2 separate regions of the Homo sapiens genome follow, and region 2 is linked to region 1. Evidence: promoter capture Hi-C in human tissues and cell types (Jung and others, 2019). All regions are on one chromosome and are shown on one strand. Each heading gives the region's core, a stretch centred on a gene start or on the middle of the fragment in contact. The rest is flanking DNA. Distances are from core to core; before and after follow the strand shown. Region 1 holds the start of CYP4F3 (cytochrome P450 family 4 subfamily F member 3). Region 2 has its middle 17 kb from the start of LINC00661.

The links. Contacts are between HindIII fragments. The study calls those that stand out against the background at their distance.
Region 2: a fragment that was not itself captured here is called in contact with the fragment with the promoter of CYP4F3 in region 1 in 4 of the 25 tissues and cell types used here (H1 embryonic stem cells, liver, lymphoblastoid cells and 1 more).

What each region holds. Positions count from the first base shown.
Region 1 is chr19:15,639,206-15,643,334 of GRCh38, reverse strand. It overlaps CYP4F3 (cytochrome P450 family 4 subfamily F member 3), which reads right to left and starts at 2,438. Exons shown (of 13, transcript NM_000896.3): 1 at 2,390-2,438; 2 at 1,722-1,920. The coding sequence starts at 1,919. The HindIII fragment of the contact is 9,363 bases long and covers 8-4,129 here.
Region 2 is chr19:15,996,778-16,000,906 of GRCh38, reverse strand. It overlaps the pseudogene LOC124900424 and the pseudogene CYP4F9P. Among named protein-coding and RNA genes, the nearest start is that of LINC00661, 17 kb to the left of the region's middle. The HindIII fragment of the contact is 3,126 bases long and covers 580-3,705 here.

The DNA.
Region 1 (4,129 bases), core at 1,189-3,688:
TCTATCTATCTATCTATCTAATCTATCTATCTACCTATGTTTCTATGTATCTATCCATCTATCTAATCCATCCATTCTATCTTATATATCTGTCTATCTATCCATTCATCTATCCTATCTGTGCATCCATTCATCCATCTAGCCTATTATCTATCTACCTACCTATCTATCTATTCATTTATCTATCTAATCTATTCATCCTATCTAACTTTTCTATCTATATATCTATCTGCCCATCCATCCATCCATCCATCCATCTTATCTGTACATTCATCCACTCATCCATTTATCCTATTATCTATCAATCATCTAGCTATCTATCCATCCATCTAATCTATCCATCCTACATATCCACTCTACCTATCTATCCACCTAATGTATCCATCTTATCTACTACTTTATGTATGTATTATCCATCCATCCATCCATCCATCCATCCATCCATCCATCTTATCCATGCATCCATCTGTCCATCCATCCATCTATCCTGTTATCTATCTATCTATCTGTCTATCTACCCACCTACTTATCCAGCCAGCCAGCCATCTATTCACCCTATCTGTGCATCCATCCATCCATCTATCCTATTACCTATCTATCTGTCTACATTCCTCCTGCTCTATCTCTCTTGGGGCCACCCCCAAGTCCCAAGAGCGCATCCCAAGGCAGAAGGAAAAGACACACTGTCCACTCACAGAGGCCCACTTAGCTTGAGAGGAAAAATTTCCTTGTTCTGGGAGTCATTTCAGCCCAGAGGTGGGCATATGAGGAGGTCCTCACAGGGGAGGTTTGTGGGGAGCAGTGTGGACTCAGGACATGTCCCTAAGGCTGGTCCCCACATCCCTTCATGCCCTGGCTGGTTCCTCCACCAGCCACACAGGTTCCAGTTCCTCCCATGGAGAAGGTTCTGCACACAGGGGACCTTCCCTTCTCAGCAGTCACTAGGGGAGCAGAGGTGACTCTAACTGTCCATCATGACAGTGGCTCCCACCTGGGAGAAGCTTCTGCACCAGGCTCTGTGCTAGTGCATCCTGTGCACCCTCCCACTTCACCTGTGGACACACCCATCAATCCTGCCATTTGCAATGAGCAGATTGAGACCACGTTCCGCAAAGGGGAGAGCAGGTCTAAGTCAGAGGGCAAGGTCTGGGGGAGGAGAAAGGTCAGGGAAGGCTTCTGAAAGGGGAAGTGAGTGGCCAACTTTTATGTGGGTTTGGCAACAGGACCCCATTGGGACATCTTACTGGGGAGGAACAAGATAAGAGGAAGGTGCCTCCGGATGTGGTGGAGGTGAGAGACAGCCCACACCTCTCCTCTGGCCCACCTATACCCTCATAAGAGGAAATAGGCCAGGTAGGGAGAGGACCCTGAACAGTGGGTACAGGAGGCCTCGAGTCCAGCAATGGAGAATGTGGGAACGCCAGGGGTTCACCTTTCTGTGCACCCAACCCCCTGCCCAAGAGCCCCGCAGAGGTGCATTAATGTGGAAAGACAGGCAGGAAAAGGATTCAACACAGGCCAAGAGTGGGAGAACAGGGAGGTGAGAAGGGCTTGGGTTGGCACCTCACAGAAATGAGTAAGCAGAGGAATGAGTAAGACGCCTCCCCTGCTTCTCTGCCACCCCAGACCCCAGCCCACCCCCTCTCACCTGAGCCTCATTCTTACCCCTCAGGAAGTCCATCCACCCTGAGACCCCAGACCCGTCCTGCTGCCACACTCACCAGGCCCAGGTGACCCAAGAACCAATTCCGTTTCGGGGGTTGCGGGAAACACCGGAGGCGGCAGCAGTTGTCATAGAAGGTATAGGTCCAGGCCAGGATGCGGGCCAGGAGCCAGGAGGCCCCAACCAGCAGCAGGAGCAGCCACGGGGATGCTGCCATTGGCCAAAGGCCCAGCGAGGACAGGCTCAGCTGTGGCATCCTGCAGGGCAGATGGGGTGGTGAGTGAGGTCCTGAGGCCCAGGGAAGGGCCCAGGGAGCTCCAGGGACAGTGGAGAGAGGCAGAGACGGGCAGTGCTGGAGATAGAACAGTAAGAGTAAACAGGGATGGATAAACAGGGGCTGAGGGGTAAAGTCCAGAAAGGCCCAGCCAAAACCAGCAACCAAGTGGCCTCCAGTTACCCGGTAAGCACTTAGATTGAGAAAGACAGAGAAACTGATTAAAGTCCAGAAAGGCCCAGCCTGAATCATTAGGACGTTGCCAGGGGCTTGGTTTCAGTTAGAAAACCACTCATCCTCCAAGCCAGCAACCAGGAGCTGCCTGGGCCTTGGGCAGCAATGGAGAATGTGGGAAGGCTGGGGCTCCCCTATGTGTGCGCCCAATCCCTTGCCCAGTGCCCATCTCCATCACAGGCTAGGATGCCCCAGGCCCACCACCCCCACCCTGGCACCTTCTGTCAGGAGCACCTTGTCCCACACAACCTCCTCTCCCCTTCTTCTGGGAGGTTTTTTCCCCTGGCCCCTGATGTAGGGAAGGCTGTGGGAGGCTAGGCTGGGCTGGGCTGGGCCAGCCAATCCCCACAGCCTGGGTGCCGCTCCCATGTCTGGGCAGCTGGCCAAAACCTGGGTGTGGGAGACCAGCTGGATGCAGAGGAACCAGCTCAGGGTGACACAGCACAGGCACTGGATCCTCAGGTCTCAGCACCTCCCACATAAGGTGGAGAGTAAGCCGAGAGGGGTCAGATAGAGTTTCCACTGTGTGACACCTGCTCTTAAAGAGCACCTACTGAGTGTGTGGCAGATAAAAGCATGAACTTGAGAGTTCAGGTGTCAAGCGAGCCAGGCCAGGCCAAGCCTTGTTCCAGATCATCTCCTGTGCTCCTCTCTAACCCTGGGCCGGTAGGACACCGTGTACCACTTCTGGATGCTGAATCAGGCAACCTGGAAGAGACAAGCCTCTATCCCCCTGCTGCTGGATGGAGTTCAAGTCTTGCCTCCAGGCAGTCCAGGGCCCTGTTGGAGACCTGACTGCTAGGAACGGGAACAAAGAATCCAGCCCCACTGAGGATTACCTGGGTCAGATTCTGGAGATTAAGAGCTCAGCTGGAAAAGCAAATCTGGAGGCCGGACTCAGTATAGGAGGACAGAGCGGGGACGTGGAGGGTTAGGATGAGAGGGAACGGATGGGGTCCAGGCAGGGGAAGGGCAGAGCCAGGGAACCATGAATGGAGTCCTCATTCTGCCTCATCCTTGCTCTGACTTTGGTCAGTACTGCCCCTCCTGGGTGCAGTCTTCCCATCTGGGAAATGGGATGTTCGATGAGGGCCTTAGCGGGGGACAATGAGGGCTCCTAAGAGGAGGGAGCCCCAAAAAGGAGTGAAGGGAAAGGGTGGCAACTAGCACTTGAGCTGCTGTGTGCCAGTCTCTACTCTGCACAAAGGCTGCATGGAAAGTACTTCTACTGTGTGCCAATACTCTAAATGAAGGGCAGCTACTGTGTGCCAGGTGCTAAATCCTGTCTACTCTGTGCCAAGTGCTTTCCATAAAGTGTGCCTACTGTGTGCCAGGTGCTCTACATTAACCCTGTATACTCAGTTCCTGATATTCCTCATAGAGTGCCTACTGTGTGCCACCTGCTCTACATAGTGAGTGCCTATTGAGTGCCACCCCCTGTATATGAAGAGTGCCCACTGAGCACCAGTTGCTGTCTACATAACACATGCCTACTGAGTGCCAAGTGCTCTACATAAACAGTGCCTACTGATACCACCTGCTCTATATGGTGACTTCCTACTGAGTGTTTCCTGATCTACATAAAGAGGGTCTATTGAGTGCTGCCTGCTCGAGTGTTGCCTGTGCTCCATAAAGTGTACCTACTGTGGGCTGCCTTCTGTACATAAAGGGTGCCTACTGAGTGCTGCTTGCTCTACATGAAGAGTTCCTACTCTTGCCTGCGCTACATAAAAAGTGCCTACTCAGTACCACCTGCAATACATAAAGAGTGCCTACTGGCCAGGCACAGTAGCTCATGCCTGTAATCCAAGCACTTTGGGAGGCCAAGGCAGGCAGATCATCTGAGGTCGGGAGTTCAAGACCAGCCTGGCCAACATGGTGAAACCCCATCTCTACTAAAAATACAAAAATTAGCCGGGCGTGGTGGCGGGCACCTATGATCCCAGCTACTCGGGAGG
Region 2 (4,129 bases), core at 893-3,392, 360 kb before region 1:
GCGGTGCCTTAGAGGAACCAGATACTGACCTGATTGGGCTGACAGGAGCTGAAGGATGTGAGGATTAGGACAGACCAGGCTCCTTCTCATTAGGCCTCCAGGGGCCTGTGGTCACATTAAAAGTTGGAGGCCAATTGATGAACTTTATTGTAGATGCTGAGGCTGAACACTCTGTAGTAACTTGACCCATAGGGCCACTATCCAAGAACTATACAACTATTGCAGGAGCTGCTGGAGTCTCAGAGAAGAGGCCATTTAGTCAGTCAAGGAGGTGTGTTATAGGAAGACGAGAAGTCTAGCATGAATTCCTATACCTCCCAACTTGTCCAGTTCCCTTGTTAAGAAGAGACCTACTTCAAAAACTGCAGGCACAGATTACTTTTAGGCTTCAAAAAGATATGACTTTCAATCTGACTCACCCAAAAGCCATAGTGTTAACCCTTACCATTCCACAGGCTGAGGAATGGAGACTTCATAGAAAGAAACTGCAGGCGCCAGTGCAGCTTCATACACGGAAAGAAGAAAAATTATTATTTGGACTAGTTAATAAAATTCCTAAGGTATAGGCTGAAGATAACCCACCTAGGCTGGCTGTAAATCATCCACCAGTAGTAGTTAAACTGAAACCAGGAGCAACTCTGGTTCGAGTTCGTCAGTACCCGGTCCCCTGAGAGGCTATTTGAGGCATTTGTAAGCATTTAGACTGGCTCTATAAACACAGGATCTTAGTCCGATGCCAGTCTCCCCGGAATACTCCACTTTTGCCAGCATGAAAGCCGACACCAGGACCAGGGTCTAATGTGTATAGACCAGTGCAAGACTTGCGGGCTAGAAACAGGGCCACAGTGGCTATCCACCTAGTAGTACCAAACCTATATACTTTAATGGGACTTATTCCAGCAAGTTGCCACTTGGTTTACGGTCTTAGACTTAAAAGATGCCTTCTTCTGTATCTGACTGGCACCAGTTAGTCAGCCCATTTTTGCATTTCAATAGGACAAGGAAGCTACACAGCTCACCTGGACTAAGCTCCCACAAGGGTTCAAAAACTCTCTTACAATCTTTGAGGAAGCACTGGCCTCAAACCTCAAGGCCTATACCCTGCCAAATGATAACTGTGCCTTGTTTCAGTACGTGGACGACCTTCTTTTGGCAGCCCCAACCCGAGAGGATTATTACCAAGGAACCCAGGACCTCCTCCATCTTTTATGGAAAACAAGTTACAAAGTATCTAAAAAGAAAGCCCAAATTTGCCATGAAAAAGTTAAATATCTAAGTTTCATAGTAAGCCACAGAGAACACCAGCTTGGCTATAAACAGAAGCAGGCCATTTGTGCACTCCCAACCCCAACCACCCGGTGTCAAATACGATAATTTTTAGAGGCAGCAGGATTTTGCCATATTTGGATTCCAAATTTTTCATTAATGGCTAAACCATTATATGAAGCCACAAAGATAGGAGAAAAACAGCCCCTCCTTTCGAAGACTAATCAAGAAATAGCATTTGAACAGATCAAGGAAGCTTTAACTTGGGCCCCAGCTTTAGGACTACCAGACATAACTAAGCCTTTCTTTCTATATGTTCATGAACAAAAAGAAATGGCTATAGGAGTTCTGACTCAAGTTATAGGGTCATAACATTGCCCAGTGGCATACTTATCCAAAGAACTGGACTCCATGCATGGTGCTAGGATGGCCTCCTTTTCTTTTCTTTTTTTTTTTTTTTTGAGACGGAGTCTTGCTGTGTTGCCCAGGCTGGAGTGCAGTAGCGTGATCTCGGCTCACTGCAACCTCCGCCTCCTGGGTTCAAGAGATTCTTGTGTCTCAGCATCCCGAGTAGCTGGGATTACAGGCCCCTGCCTTGCTTGCAGGTCCCCACATGAAGGAGGGCATGAGAGTTCTGACTCAGCTGGTGGCCACTTACCCCCAGGGCTTTAAGATCTGGATGAACCCCATTACTCCCATCATCAGGTTGTGCCACCCCAACATCATCTGGTCTGTCATCAATGCCTCAGGTACCATCTGAAACACCTGGTGGTGAATGCCGTGGTGCATCTGAGGCCTGCAAGCCCCTCCTCCCCCAAGCTTCTGTGTGGCCGCTGCAGTATCCAGGCCCTTCCTTCTTGCTTCACCCTCAGCCATCTTCTCTTTCCTTCATGTATTCACCAACCCCCATCTCAGCGTCTCCTCCCACTACTGCCATCCCCCCACCACCCCGGCGTTCTGTGCACTACTGGAGCCCCATGAGGCCTCAACCCAAGGCTCTGTCCTGGAAGGATCTCCCAAGCTTGAGGAGATGGATCTGGGCAGAGACATCCCCAAAGTCATGGGGTCAGGAGTGGTCCAGAAGGAGATGGGCTGGGAGAGCCCAGAGGAGAACCTGGTCTCTCCTGGGGCAGGCTGGAAGGCTTCCTGGAAGAGAAGTTGCTGGAGCTGGGTTTCTAACAATGAGTAGGAATGTTTTAAAGTGGGGGATGAAGCGATGCAATGGGCAACATTAGAATTCAAGACCTCCTGCCAGGCCTGGCATCACCTTGCATGTCCCCAAGCCCAGAACAATGAGGAGGACATGCAGTTGGTGGAGGATCTGGACTGCTATTTTCATGACATTCACCTCTGTGGGTCGGTTCCTTCTACCCCATCCTGTGGTTCTTCCACTATATGCTCATTGCCCTCCTGCTCCAGGCCCTAGGAATCTCCAGTAGGAGACGCCACCCGAGCCTGGAGCCCTACCCTTGCCCAAACGTGAGGCGCATCCCAAACATGGCCCAGACGTCACCAGCAGAAGAAAAAGACTATCTCAAACAGAATCGCAGACAAACCCCACATACCCCAAATACTCTTGGCCACAGCTGAGCCCTAGACATAACCATCTCCATATGATCCCAGGGATGTGCCTCATGTCTGGAACCCAGGGTCTGTGTGTAAACATTCTGAGACATTGTTTGAGTATTGTTTGAGACAGGCTTCAGGGTATATTTGAGTCATGACTATGGAACATTTGGGACCAGACATGGGCTATTTCTGGGATATTAAAGGGACCATATTTAAATCTGAATCCTAACTGGGGCCTGCCTATAGGGCATGCTAAGGTCATTTCAGAGTGTCTAAGATCCTTGTTAGAGCACAGCATAGCATGCTAGGGCTTGTTGTGTATTTTGTGACCATGTCAGGACATGTTAACACATATCGGGGCCATGTCACATGTTTCTACTATGCTGCGCTTTGAGGGAGTAAGTGTGGTCTCTGGCTTGGAGCCTCACCCCACACCCAAAGTCCCTCCCTCACCCTTTCCATGGTTTCTGATGGTCCTCATTCATGTCAGCCACCATTGCACCAAAAGACGAGGCCTTCTACAAGTTCCTGAAGCCCTGGCTGGGTGAGTACCTGTAGGTGAACAAGGGTGGGAAAAACCTTGGGGGATGGGTAAGAAGAGGGAGATACCCTTGCCCATGGCCCTTGACTGCCTCTACTAGGGGATGGGCTCCTGGTAAATGCCAGTGACAAGTGGAGCTGCCACCGTCAGATGCTGATGCCCGCCTTCCATTTCAACATGCTGAAGCCCTATATGAAGTTTTTCACTGACAGTGTGAATATCATGCACGTGAATTCTTTGAACCCAGAGTTCCAGCTGAAGCCTTGGGGTGGAGGCACCACAGACAGATCTGGTCTGGAATTTTGGCTCTGCTGGGTGGCATTCAGCATTGCTTTTCCTCTCTGAGCTTTGGTTTCCTCAGCTGTAAAATGGGTATAATAATCCCTACTTAAAAGATGGTCAAGGTGATGTAATGGAGTCATATCCCTGGTGCATAGTAGGTGCCCAGAAAGTGTCTGTTTCTATATTTCCTCTTGTAAACTCAAGAGGGTCATGATGACAATTGTATAGTAGCTGTTGCTGAGTAAGAAACAACTTGAGAACTCATTGGTTTAAAACAATAAGGTTTTATGATTGCTAACAAGTCTATGAGACAGGTGGCTGGTATATTAGTCTGTTCTCATGCTGCTGATAAAGACATACCTGAGACTGAGTACTTTAAAAAGGAAAGAGGTTTAATTGACTCACAGTTCCACATGGATGGGGAGGCCTCACTATCATGGTGGAAGGTGAATGAGAAGCAAAGTCATGTCT